3 separate regions of the Homo sapiens genome follow, and all the other regions are linked to region 2. The links are contacts of gene promoters, found by promoter capture Hi-C in blood cells and fetal thymus (Javierre and others, 2016). All regions are on one chromosome and are shown on one strand. Each heading gives the region's core, a stretch centred on a gene start or on the middle of the fragment in contact. The rest is flanking DNA. Distances are from core to core; before and after follow the strand shown. Region 1 overlaps SPRY3 (sprouty RTK signaling antagonist 3). Region 2 holds the start of CMC4 (C-X9-C motif containing 4). Region 3 has its middle 13 kb from the start of VAMP7.

Region 1 (4,225 bases), core at 948-3,447, 580 kb after region 2:
CATGTCAAAAAGCTTATCCACCACAATCAAGTAGGCTTCATCCCTGGGATGCAAGACTAGTTCAACATACGCAAATCAATAAATGTAATCCATCACATAAACAGAACCAATTACAAAAACCACATGATTATCTCAATAGATGCAGAAAAAGCCTTCAATAAAATTCAACACCCCTTCATGCTAAAAACCCTCAATAAACTAGATATTGATGGAACATATCTCAAAATAATAAGACCTATTTATGGCAAACCCACAGCCAATATCATACTAAATGGGCAAGAGCTGGAAGCATTCCCTTTGAAAATCGGCACAAGACAAGGATGCCCTCTCTCACCACTCCTATTCAACATAGTATTGGAAGTCCGGCCAGGGTAATCACACAAGAGAAGGAAATAAAGGGTATTCAAATAGGAAGGGAGGAAGTCAAATTATCTCTGTTTGCACATGACATGACTTTATATTTAGAAAACCCCATCGTCTCAGCCCAAAAACTCCTTAAGCTGATAAGCAACTTCAGCAGGCTCAGGATACAAAATCAATGTGCAAAAATCACAAGCATTCCTATATACCAATAATAGAGAGCCAAATCATGAGTGAACTCCCATTCACAATTGCTAAAAAGAGAATAAAATACCTAGGAATACAACTTACAGGGGATGTGAAGGACCTCTTCAAGGAGAACTACAAATCACTGCTCGAGGAAATAAGAGAGGACACAATCAAATGGAAAAACATTCCATGCTCATGGATAGGAAGAATCAATATCGTGAAAATGGCCATACTGCTCATAGTAATTTATAGATTCAATGCTATCCTCATTAAGCTACCATTGACTTTCCTCACAGAATTAGAAAAAATTATTTTAAATTTCATATGGAATCAAAATAGAGCCCGTATAGCCAAGACAATCCTAAGCAAACAAAACTATGATATATTGTTATAGTCCTTTAGTTCAGTGTGTTGTTAAGTACTCATGGTTATTTCTTCTTTAATTTTTTAATTACTTTGGAAGCTTCTTGCTTAAATTTCAAATGTAGATTTTTAGCGATTTTTAATTTTGAGCTCAATAGAATTATAAATTGATTTATGACCCAGCATATGCTCAACTTTTATAGATGTTTTATATGTATCTGAAAGCTATACGTGTTCTGCAGTAATTGGATGCAGCGTTCTATATATGTCAATTAGATCAAGTTTATTAATTGGGTTTTTCAAGTCCTCTACATATTGAATTTTTTGTACATTTGTGCAGCAGCCGTGTGGTGTACCACCTTGCTCTCCCTTCAGGAAAGTACCTCCACAGTAGGTGCATTTAGCTGAAAGCCTTCAGCTGCAGCAGTTTGGGGATCTGACATGCGGTTTGATGGAGTGCCAAATTCTTGCTGGAAAGTTCCCAGACAAAAACTGAGCACTATGAAGATACTAGACCTTGGCTATTTCTACCCAATGCAGCATTCTTCTACAGTCACTTAAGTACAGAATTCTTCAATAGCATCATTTTTCATTTCTCTGAGATAAATTCTCAAGAGCACAGTTTCAGGGGCATGTGGTAATTACATTTTTATTTTTCTAAGAAAACACAAAGCTGTTTTCCATAGAGAATGTACTATTTTATATTCCCACCAACAATGTATCAGTGATCCAGTTTCTCTGCATCCTAACCACCATTGATGTTATCACTTTTTTTTTTTTTTTGAAACAGAGTCTTACTCTGTTTTCCAGACTGGAGTGCAGTGGTGCAATCTTGGCTCACGGCAGCCTCCACCTCCTGGGTTCAAGAGATCCTCATGCCTCAGCCTCCTGGGATTACAGGCATACACTACCACACCCGGCTAATTTTTGTATTTTTAGTAGAGACGGGGTTTCACCAGGCTGGTCTTAAACTCTTGGTCTCGAGTGATCTGCCCACCTCAGCCTCCCAAAGTGCTGGGATTACAGGCATGAGCCAGCTCACCCAGCCCAGGTATTTTTAAGTTTAGACATTCTGGTAGGTTTATAGGGGTATCTCATTGTGCTTTTAATTTGCAGTTCCCCCTGGTGGCTAATGATGTATTTTCTCTTTTCATGGCCTTATTTGCAATTTGCATACTCCTTTCAATGAAATGTCTATATCTTTTGTCCATTTCCTAATTATTGAATTTTGAATTTTAAAAATATGTTCTAGATACTAGTCCTAGATTTACAAATATCCCAGTCTGTTGCTTGTCATTTTATCCTTAGAGTTTTTGCAGAGCAAAAGGCTTTAAAATTCTGATGAGGTCTAACTTACCAATTTTCATTTTATGTATCATGCTTTTAACATTTTTTATTTTAATTTTATGGGTACATAGTATATGTATATATTTATGGGGTACATGAGATGTTTCAATATAGGCATGCAATGCATAATAATCATATCATGTAAAATGGGGTATCCATTCCCTCAAGCATTTATCCTTTGTGTTCATATTAGTCCATTCTCGCATTGTTATAAAGAACTACCTGAGACTGGGTAACTTATAAAGAAAAGAGGTTTAAAATTGGCTCACATTTCCACAGGCTGTACAGGAAGCATGGCTGGGGAAGCCTCAGGAAACTTACAATCATGGCAGAAGGCAGAGGGGAAGCAGGAACGTCCTACATGGCTGGAGCAGAAGGAAGAGAGCAAACAGGGAGGTAGAGGTGCTACACACTTTTAAACAACGAGATCTCATGAGAACTCACCATCAGGAGAACAGCGAGGAGGAAATCTGCCCCCATGATCCAATAATCTCCCACTAGGCCCCTCCTCCAACATTGGGGATTACAATTTGACATTAGATTTGGGCGGGGACACAAATCCAAACCATATCAGTGTTATAAACAATCCAATTACACTCTTTTAGTTATTTTAAAATGTACAATTAAATTATTATTGACTATAGTCACACTGTTGTGCTATCAAATACTAGGTCTGATTCATTCTTTCTAACTATTTTTTTTTTATCCATTAACTATCCCCACCTTCCTTCACCCCAGCCCATTACAACCTTTCCCAGTCTCTGGTAGCCATCCTTCTACTCTCTATCTCCATGAATTCAGTCGTTTTGACTTTTAGATCCCACAAATAAGTAAGAACACACAATGTTTTGTCTTTCTTGCCTGCCTTATTTCATGTTGCAAATGACAGGACCTGTTTTATTTCTTTTTATGGCTGAATAGTATTCCATTGTGTGTATATATACCACATTTCATTTATACATTTATCTATTAAGGGACACTCGGGTTGTTACCACTGTTGGGCTACTGTGAATAGTGTTTCTATGAACATTTGTGAGCATATTTTTGGTTGGATATTTGTTTTTGAGTCTCTTGAGTAAATATCTTGGAGTGGAATTGCTGGATGATATAGTAACTTTATGTGTAAGCTTTTGAGTAACTTCCAGAATGTTTTTTGCCATGATTGCACAATTTTAAATTCTCGTTGATGGTTCAGTTTATCTACATTCTCACCAACATTTGTTATTTTCTGCCATTATTGTTATTATTAGCATCCTAATGGGTGTGAAGTGATATCTAATTGTTGTTTTGATTTGCATTTCCCCAGTGATTAATATTGAGCCTCTTTTCATGTGCTTACTGGCCATTTGCATATCTCCTTTAGAGAAATGTCTATTCAAGTCATTTGCTCATTTTTAAATTGGGTTGCTTTTCTCATTATTATTGAGTTGTAGGAGTTACTCATATATTCTGAACACTAGATCCTTATCTAGTTATCAGATATATGGACCCTTATCTAGTTATCAGATATATGATTTGCAAATATGTTCTCTCATTCTGTCTTTTCACCTCTTAATAATGTCTTTTGATGCACTAAGGTTTTGAATTTTGATGAAGTCCATTTTATGGTTTTTAAAATTTTGTTACTTGTGCTTTTGGTGCCATATCTAAGAAACCATTGCCTGATTCAACATCATGATTTATTCCCAAGTTTTCTTCTAATATTGGTACAGTTTTAGCTCTTATATTTAGGTCTTTGAACTATTTTGAGTTAATTTTTATACATAATGTTAGGTAAAGGTCCAACTTCATTCTTTTGCATGTGGATATCCAGTTTTCCCAGAACCATTTGTTGAAGAGACTGTTCTTTCCCCATTGTATGGTCTTGGCATCCTGGTTGAAAATCAATTATACATAGATGTTTGGGTTTATTTCTGGATTCTCAATTCCATTTCAGTGATTTATAGATGCCATTGTCTATCCTTAT
Region 2 (3,920 bases), core at 496-2,995:
TCTCCACCTCAGTTTCCTGAGGTGTAAAATGAGAATTAAAGAACATATTAATCATGATAGTCTTTATTTAGCATTTCCTATATGTTTACATATATTGACTCATTTAATTTTCACAATCTTCATAGGGCGCTATGAGGTGGGCAGAATTATTATCATCCCCACTTAAAGGTGAGGAAAAGAAAGGCACAGAGAAGTTAGGTAACTTGCTCAAGGTCACACAGTGGGGAAGTTGTTGAGCTTGACTCCAAATGGGGCAGTTTACATGTACCAGGCATATAAATGCTTAGTATCTAGCATATAATAAGCTTGCCATAAATGTTAATAATTTTGTTCTACTCCAGTTAAATGCCTGGAGCTGTAAAAGGCAGCCATGAGCATTAGAAAAGTTAGTGAACCTCATTCTGGAATATGAGATTGACTACCGCCGATAACAAACAAAAGGTATTTTTCTTCTTGAAAGTGCCTAAAGGCACTATATCCCATCACCAAATGTTAATGTCATAATAATAAGAACAGCCGTTCCTGCTCCATGAGGACGGGGCATACTAGCCACAAACAGTAACTGAAAATAACATATGATATAAAATTGAAACAAGAGAAAATTTAGACAGGTCCAATGTAACTGCACACGAAAATTTTCCAACCTTCATCATGATCAAATTAATTATAGAAAGATGTGCCATGTGATCCTTACAGATCGTTAGGTAAAAACGGAGGCTGCTGGCGTGCACATTACAGATCGTTGCACTGGATGGGGACCCTATGTGTGGGGAGACTTGGGTTGGAACTGACTTGGGAGAAAAGAGCAAAGCATCAACACTTCAAGTAGCACCTTGGGAATGTTCCCTTTCCAGTACTGCCATACCTGCCTGGCTTCAAAACTACACAAAGTAGAAAACCAAATCAAAGACACGAACACGGACGGGCTGTGGAGGCGGCACGGCATATATTGTGCTTTGATTTAGAATCGCTTTCAAAATCCACGTGTGATTCCTAGACTTGTGAGTTGGAAGATCTGTACTTTTATCCTTGGCACGTTTGACATACCTCGAAATAAAAATTACTTTTACATATATTTTTACTGTCTGATATCATCGAGACAAGGAGACCCGAGGAAACTTGCATTCTGGATACCTAATGTGATACATCCGAACTTGAATAAAAACTGAAGTTCTCCATTTCCCCTTCCCTGTATCCAACAAATAGCTACCTAAAAGCCTTTGTAGAAAGTAGCAGCAGCCAAGCTTAAGAGTGATACTTTTTCAGATACAGTATAACACTGTTTCTGCAAAAGGTTACTCACATGAATATAATGTTTCTTGGGCTAATTAATCCGCCTTGAGAACAGCTAGGCTAAAACTTCCAGGTCTCCCACCCTGGGCCACTCAAGCCAGGATCGCGACGTGAGCCCGGGGTGAGCCGAGGGGCATCCCGGGCCGAGGTCACTCGAACCGAAGTTATGAGGCGCGGGCCGGCAACCGGAAGTGGTCCAGGGAGAGTTGTACGAGATTCGGGGGCTGTGACTTGGAAATAAAACAAAATAAAATAAAACCTTAACTGTTTTGGGACTGACTTTCAAAAGAGCGTCCCCCTGGCTCAAGAGGCCGGCGTTCGCGGAGATGTCGTCTTAAAGGGCTGTCCCCCAAGCGTGTAGGCCGCGCACGGGTCTCCTTAGCGGGCGGGCAAAATGGGCGCCGGTACTCGGGAGGCGCCTGCCCAGGCGCCCGGGCGCCGCTCACAGAGTACGTCCGCCTGCGGCCCCAGAGCGCCGCCTCCCTGCCGCCCCCGCCGCCCGGCCTGACGCCCGGACCGCGGCCGGCCACCGCCCTCCGCCCCGACGGCCACGCCTGCCCCAAACCGCGCGGGCGTTTCCCAGGTGCTGCTGGGCGGGCCCCGCCCCCGTGCCCCAAGGCCCGCCCCCGCGCGCCAGCCGCGCGCCCGCTGCCCCCTCCTCGCCCCCACAGCCCCGCCCCCACAGCCCCGCCCGCTCCCTAAGCCCCGCCCCCTAGGAACCCGCGCGCCGAAGGCCAGGCCTGGGCGGAGCGCACAGCGCTGGGCGCTGGGGAGGCTGCGCCGCAGCACCCGGTTGGTCAGGACCAAGTGGGCCCGAGGCGGACGTGAGAAGGGTCGGGCCAAGATGGCGGTGCAGGTGGTGCAGGCGGTGCAGGCGGTTCATCTCGAGTCTGACGCTTTCCTCGTTTGTCTCAACCACGCTCTGAGCACAGAGAAGGAGGAAGTAATGGGGCTGTGCATAGGGGAGGTGAGTAGGTCTGTTAGCCTGGATGGAACCCTGCTGAGCAGTCCCAGTGTGTCCCCGGGGTGGGTGCCGGCAGCTCCCAGGGCTGCGGAGGCCACAGGCATCCTCGATTTAGGTCCTTGGACACCCTTTACATAGCTCTGTCGCGGGGAGCCCCGTTTCTTCTGGCCGCCTGACACTTGTTTAGTCTCCTGCGAGCCCCCGGCGGTCTGTACAGGCCCCGGGAGCCTTGCCCTTTCTCCTGTAGCCTGGGGCTTCTCTTTAGATCTGCGCTTTTCGCCCGGTTGACCAAAACTGCAAGGCAGGTCAGAAAGACACTGGAGTATAATGAGGATGTCCGGGTATTACGACGCAGCAGCTGACCACAGTTAGAGCCCCTTGCCTCGCCTCGAGTCTTCTGTCTAGGGAGCAGAGATATCAACCAAAGCATTTGAAGGGTATCGAAGAGCCTAACAGAAGGTGCGGGGCTTGAAGGAAGCAAAAGTTTCCGCTGCATTGTGTTGAGGAGGGGCCGAAGAGGATGAGGAAATACAGTTTAGCTGTTTACAGTCTAAAGTAATTCTCCAGTCTTTCATACCATGTGCGTGAACACATGACCTAATTGTCATATAATCTGCATCCATATATGTCAAACAAACGTAATGTGATCAATAATGTTTTTTGCTTTTTCCCACTCTAGTTGAACGATGATACAAGGTAAGACTGTATTTGTTTACTCATATCTTATAATCTCTAAGTCATTGTTAACCTAAAATTATGGCGACTTTGGCAGTATTGTGTCCGGATCGTGTCTTAAATTAATTACCATTATCACTCCGGGGCTCCCTTAATGATACAACCTTGAACTTTGGTTTCTGCCTTACCTCCTATTCAGTTGAGATATGGGATAAACATCTTAATAAGCATTATCATAATTGTTGCGTTTTAGGGGTGAGACAGAGCCTCACTCTGTCGCCCAGGCTGGAGTGCAGTGGCGCGATCTCTGCTCACTGCAACCTCCGCCTCCCAGGTTCAAGCGATTCTCATACTTCAGACTCCCGAATAGCTGAGATTACAGGTGCCCGCCACCACACCCGGCTGTCTTTTTTTTTTGTACAGACGGGGTTTCACCATGTTGGCCAGGCTGGTCTCGAACTCCTGGCTCAAGCAGTCTGCCCACCTCGACCTCCCCAAGTGCTGGAATTTCAGGCGTGAGCCACCACACCTGGCCTTGCTCAGTGTATTTCATGTTCTGTCTCCCCTTAAATGCCAGTGAGATATCAGTAATTTTCTTAGTGACAGAGAGCATATACGTTTAGAGGCATTTCCCCATTGATCCATTCCTTCACGTAAATTGACAGTGACATTGCCTTTCCTCCTGATGGACCTCAGTGATCTCAGAGATCCCCAGTAGCTTCAATACTTGACGTGGTGAAACCTTTCGGTAACATTTTAATTTAAACTTCAAATCATACCATAGTATACTTCTCAAGCCCACCTCCTTAGTTCCCAGGATTCCAGGAATTTAGCTTTGTCCATTATAACTTTATACACTCAGCCACTTGTGCATGTGTCCCAGATTGCTTCTAACAGATAGAGTGCAGCTCTAGCCTCAATTCAGTTTCCCTCCTCTTCTTTGGTCTCTGCTAAGATTTCATTGCAAAAACAGTTAATCCTGTTATTT
Region 3 (3,786 bases), core at 503-3,002, 800 kb after region 2:
AAGAACTGTAACACCAGGAGGGTCTGCAGCTTCATTCTTGAAGTCAGTGAGACCAAGAACCCACCAATTTTGGACACAATGTGACCAAAGTTTACATCACAGATGAGAATACTTCAGGGTTTAGCACTTGGTAGGAAAAACAGGCATTTTGGCTTCTAACTCTAGAAACAAGTGATTATCTGTTACTCTTGTGTCACTCAAATCTATGTTCACAAACAGCACTACTGCATTTGGTGTCTTTTTTATCAAGAGACAGAGTCGTGCTCTGTTGCCCAAGTTGTAGTGCAGTGGCACAAAACAGCTCACTGTGAGCTCAAACTCCGATGTCAGCATCTTACTGTTCCTAAAAGGTTAGAAAGACAATAGCTGGCAGAAACTACACGTGTAGAAAAAAATAAACACATTCTTAGCTAGGAAGGTACCAGGAAGTATAAGTATTCTCTGTTTCCTCAAAAATCATAGTAAACTGAAGACCAAAAGATGGGTTAGATTCGTAGTTCTTCCTGAATATCCAATATTATTAAAAATTTTTATTGTGAATATCTGGCCATCACATACTTATACTGTCTTGACTCTAAAGTACATTTTCCTACTTAAAAGCTTTGGTCTGACAGTATGAAATGGGAAGATTATTTTTCATCAGCCAACTTGGAAATGAATTTCATATAACATGCTAAGAATTGCATGAAATTCATTTCTTTTTCTTAGGGAAGATAACAGAAATCACCTTTTAATAGTTTATTTATCTTAAATACTTTATCCAAATATAGAACTACTTCTATCCACAAAGTACATACCTAGAAAAATTCAAGAATAGAAATATCCCAGTAATATGGAGGCCAGGTTTCAGGCAACCTCAACTACTTGAAACACCACCCAGAACCTGAAAGCAAAACAGGCCTTTGAAGTACCGACCTAGCTGTCAAGTATGAACTTGCATACTTCATTTTCAAAAAGTATTCTTGCAAACTGTCATTTAGATAATATAATAGTTAATATTGTGAGTACTTATTATGCATCCATTGTTACTGTTTTCTGTACAAGAGACCATGAAATAAACTCCCAGATTCCACTGTTGGGGAAAATTTTGCCTCTCAAGATAAACACATTCTGTCAGATAATGATAATTAAAACCAAAAAAAACAAAAATATGTACTTCTCTTTTCTATTGGCTGCTATGAAGCACAGAGATAAATTTAGCACTCATAAAAAATAAATATTTTATCCTGGATTCCTCAAATAGTTTCTCTTCTTAATTTCTAATTTCCTTTCCAATCTATTTTTAATCTATCCTACCTTATGTTTTAATACTATAGGGCATCTCAAATCATTTTGTTAAGTTGATAAACTATGTCTTATAAATATTTATAATATTTATTTGTAGAATAAAAACAGTAAGAAAATGGATAGCAATTTAAGAGATGTCAAATATATCTCAGTAAAAAATTAGTGACCAATATAATACCAATAGAAAAACAAAACAAAGCAGAACAAGTCATTCACAAAATAATTAAAAACAAACAGCAATAAAAATAATTTTAAAACAAAAACACTTTTACAAAGGTTTAAGTTCATTCGTAATTAATAAATGCAAGTGAAAATGAGTTAGTTATAATTTATTGCCTATGAAACATCCACAGATAAGATAGAATGAAAATAGCAGCACTGACTAGAGTATGAAAAAGTTATTTTCATCACTTGATGTCCAGGTGTTGGAAATAAATTTTCGGTGCCACAAAAGAAATAGCACTCAAACATAAATTTTCTCAGCAAGGCAATTTTACTTCTATAGAAGGGTGTGTCTCACAGATGGAGCAATGGCGAGAACACACCTGAACAAGGGAGGGGAAGGGATTCTTATCCCTGACACAGGTTGCTCCTACTGCTGTGTCGTTCCCCTATTGGCTAGGGTTGGACCACACAGTCTAAACTAATTCCAATTGGCCATTTTAAAGAGACCAGGTGTACAAGCCAGAGAGGCGGGGTGAGCAGTTTTGGTGGGAAAGGTGGTTATGGAACAGGTGACTAAGGGAGACTCAGGTCAGAGCAGGTGACCAGGGGTGATTCAGGATGGAGCAGGTGACCAGGGGAACAGATGTGAACTACTGATTAGAACTGGCAGAAAGGTTGTTTACTGAAACTAGGGGCAAGGAGATGAAGAGAATGAGAAAGTTAAACTTTAAAATGGAGAACAAGGACCTGAACATACTGACATACTGATTCTTTGAAGAGAAACTTAGAACTCACTGTATTTAACACAGGGAAGGAGTAAATCAACTGGTATAATCTTTTCTGAAAAAAATCTGGCAATATACAACAATAGTTTTTAAAATTTATATATCCTTTGACTCGGAGATTCCAATTACAGAGACTTATCTGTGGCCAACTGCCACTGTTACTACTTGAGACCGTCACTATGACAGTTACTACTGTCACTACTTGAGACCATCATTACAAGACTGAATGAAGGGACGAACATAGAAATGAAAACTTAAGACAAAAGAAACTGTTTTAAAGGAAGGGTCCAGGGGAAGAAGAAGAGAGCTCCCTGCTTCTAGTGAGCATAGGCAGCCCCTGAGCTTCCACAGCCCTTCATATTTATTGGGTAGCAAGAGCAGGGAGGAGGAGGTAATGATTGGTTGGCTGCTTAATTGATAACAGGTTCATATTATTACCAACCGGCTTCAGATGTACCTAATCGCAAGAAACACTGTGCTTGGGTCGTGACTACCCTCAGCATTCCTTCTGGGCAGCAGATGCAGTTTGTCAGTTTACCAACATTCTGCATTGATGAGAACAGTTTGCTGCCCACTCATATAGCCTCCAGTGGTATACTGAGTTGATCACGACCCTCATTCTTTCGGCCTATGACATTTATCCTAAGGAAACATTTAAGTTTGTAGATAAAGCTTTGATTACAAGGTATTTTATCACATTGTATACAACATAGGTAAGCCAGAAATGTAATTGTTCAACAGTAGGTGATAAGTACTGTAACACACTTACATAATAGAATACTATGTAGTACTTAAGGTGATCTGTAAAACTATACTCAACATGGAAAGAGGTTCATAATACATTACTGAGTGAGAGAAATATATTACAAAATATTATGAATGGTATCATCCTATGTTTGCCTTCTCTGTGCCTGCCCTACTTTTGCTGAATATCACAGGAAAAAATAACCCCACCATGTTTTATAATAAATTCATGTTCACAAACCTCAAATCAACATATTATCTGACAATCTTACCACTTTTCCCCAAGTTTACTCTTCCCACTCTTTGAGCTGATTAGTCCATAAGTATTTCTCTTTCCTCAAACCACCAATACCACCTCTCCCAACTTATTCTGAGCCAATGAACTTGCTTTCCTTTTGTCATATTCTTAAAATGAAGGAGCTATCCTTTGCTTAAAGCTCAATGCCTTCTCACCATCCCCTCTTACCTTCTTTTCTCCTTTAGTCTTCCCCCTGCTGCCCTCCCTTGCTCGCATCACCAATTTTCCCATCTCTTTTAGATCCTTCTTACATGCAAATTTGTTCTGGGATATCCTAGCTTAAATAAAATCCTTTCCTGGACCTTACATCTCCATCTAGCTACCAAATTTCTTCCTCCCTTCAGGGAAAAACTTCTCAAAAGAGTTTTCTACACAAGCTATCTCTACTTCATCACCTCTTTGATGTGGCTTTTGTGAACCCAGAAAATGTCAGACAGGTCTCTCGCCCAGGTTGAGGATGCATGCCCGTGACACAGCCTCGGGAAGTCCTAAGGACATGTGCCCAAG

Evidence for each region. The method cuts DNA at HindIII sites, captures the fragments that hold promoters and counts their contacts. A CHiCAGO score of 5 or more calls a contact.
Region 1: a fragment that was not itself captured here is called in contact with the fragment with the promoter of CMC4 in region 2 in 1 of 17 cell types (naive CD4 T cells); the score reaches 7.2 in naive CD4 T cells.
Region 3: a fragment that was not itself captured here is called in contact with the fragment with the promoter of CMC4 in region 2 in 2 of 17 cell types (erythroblasts and total B cells); the score reaches 7.1 in erythroblasts.

What each region holds. Positions count from the first base shown.
Region 1 is chrX:155,649,399-155,653,623 of GRCh38, forward strand. The region is part of intron 1 of SPRY3 (sprouty RTK signaling antagonist 3); the gene reads left to right. Among named protein-coding and RNA genes, the nearest start is that of TMLHE, 39 kb to the left of the region's middle. The HindIII fragment of the contact is 2,374 bases long and covers 1,011-3,384 here.
Region 2 is chrX:155,069,391-155,073,310 of GRCh38, forward strand. It overlaps CMC4 (C-X9-C motif containing 4), which reads right to left and starts at 1,746. Exons shown (of 3, transcript NM_001018024.3): 1 at 1,304-1,746. MTCP1 (mature T cell proliferation 1) reads right to left here and starts at 1,746. Exons shown (of 5, transcript NM_001018025.4): 1 at 1,304-1,746. BRCC3 (BRCA1/BRCA2-containing complex subunit 3) reads left to right here and starts at 2,118. Exons shown (of 11, transcript NM_001018055.3): 1 at 2,118-2,260; 2 at 2,937-2,953. The coding sequence starts at 2,138. RefSeq lists enhancers at 1,374-1,673, 1,658-2,379, 2,144-2,363, 2,374-2,423, 2,380-3,101 and a silencer at 1,714-2,033. The HindIII fragment of the contact is 6,678 bases long and covers 1,243-3,920 here.
Region 3 is chrX:155,866,227-155,870,012 of GRCh38, forward strand. No RefSeq gene overlaps it. Among named protein-coding and RNA genes, the nearest start is that of VAMP7, 13 kb to the right of the region's middle. The HindIII fragment of the contact is 2,309 bases long and covers 599-2,907 here.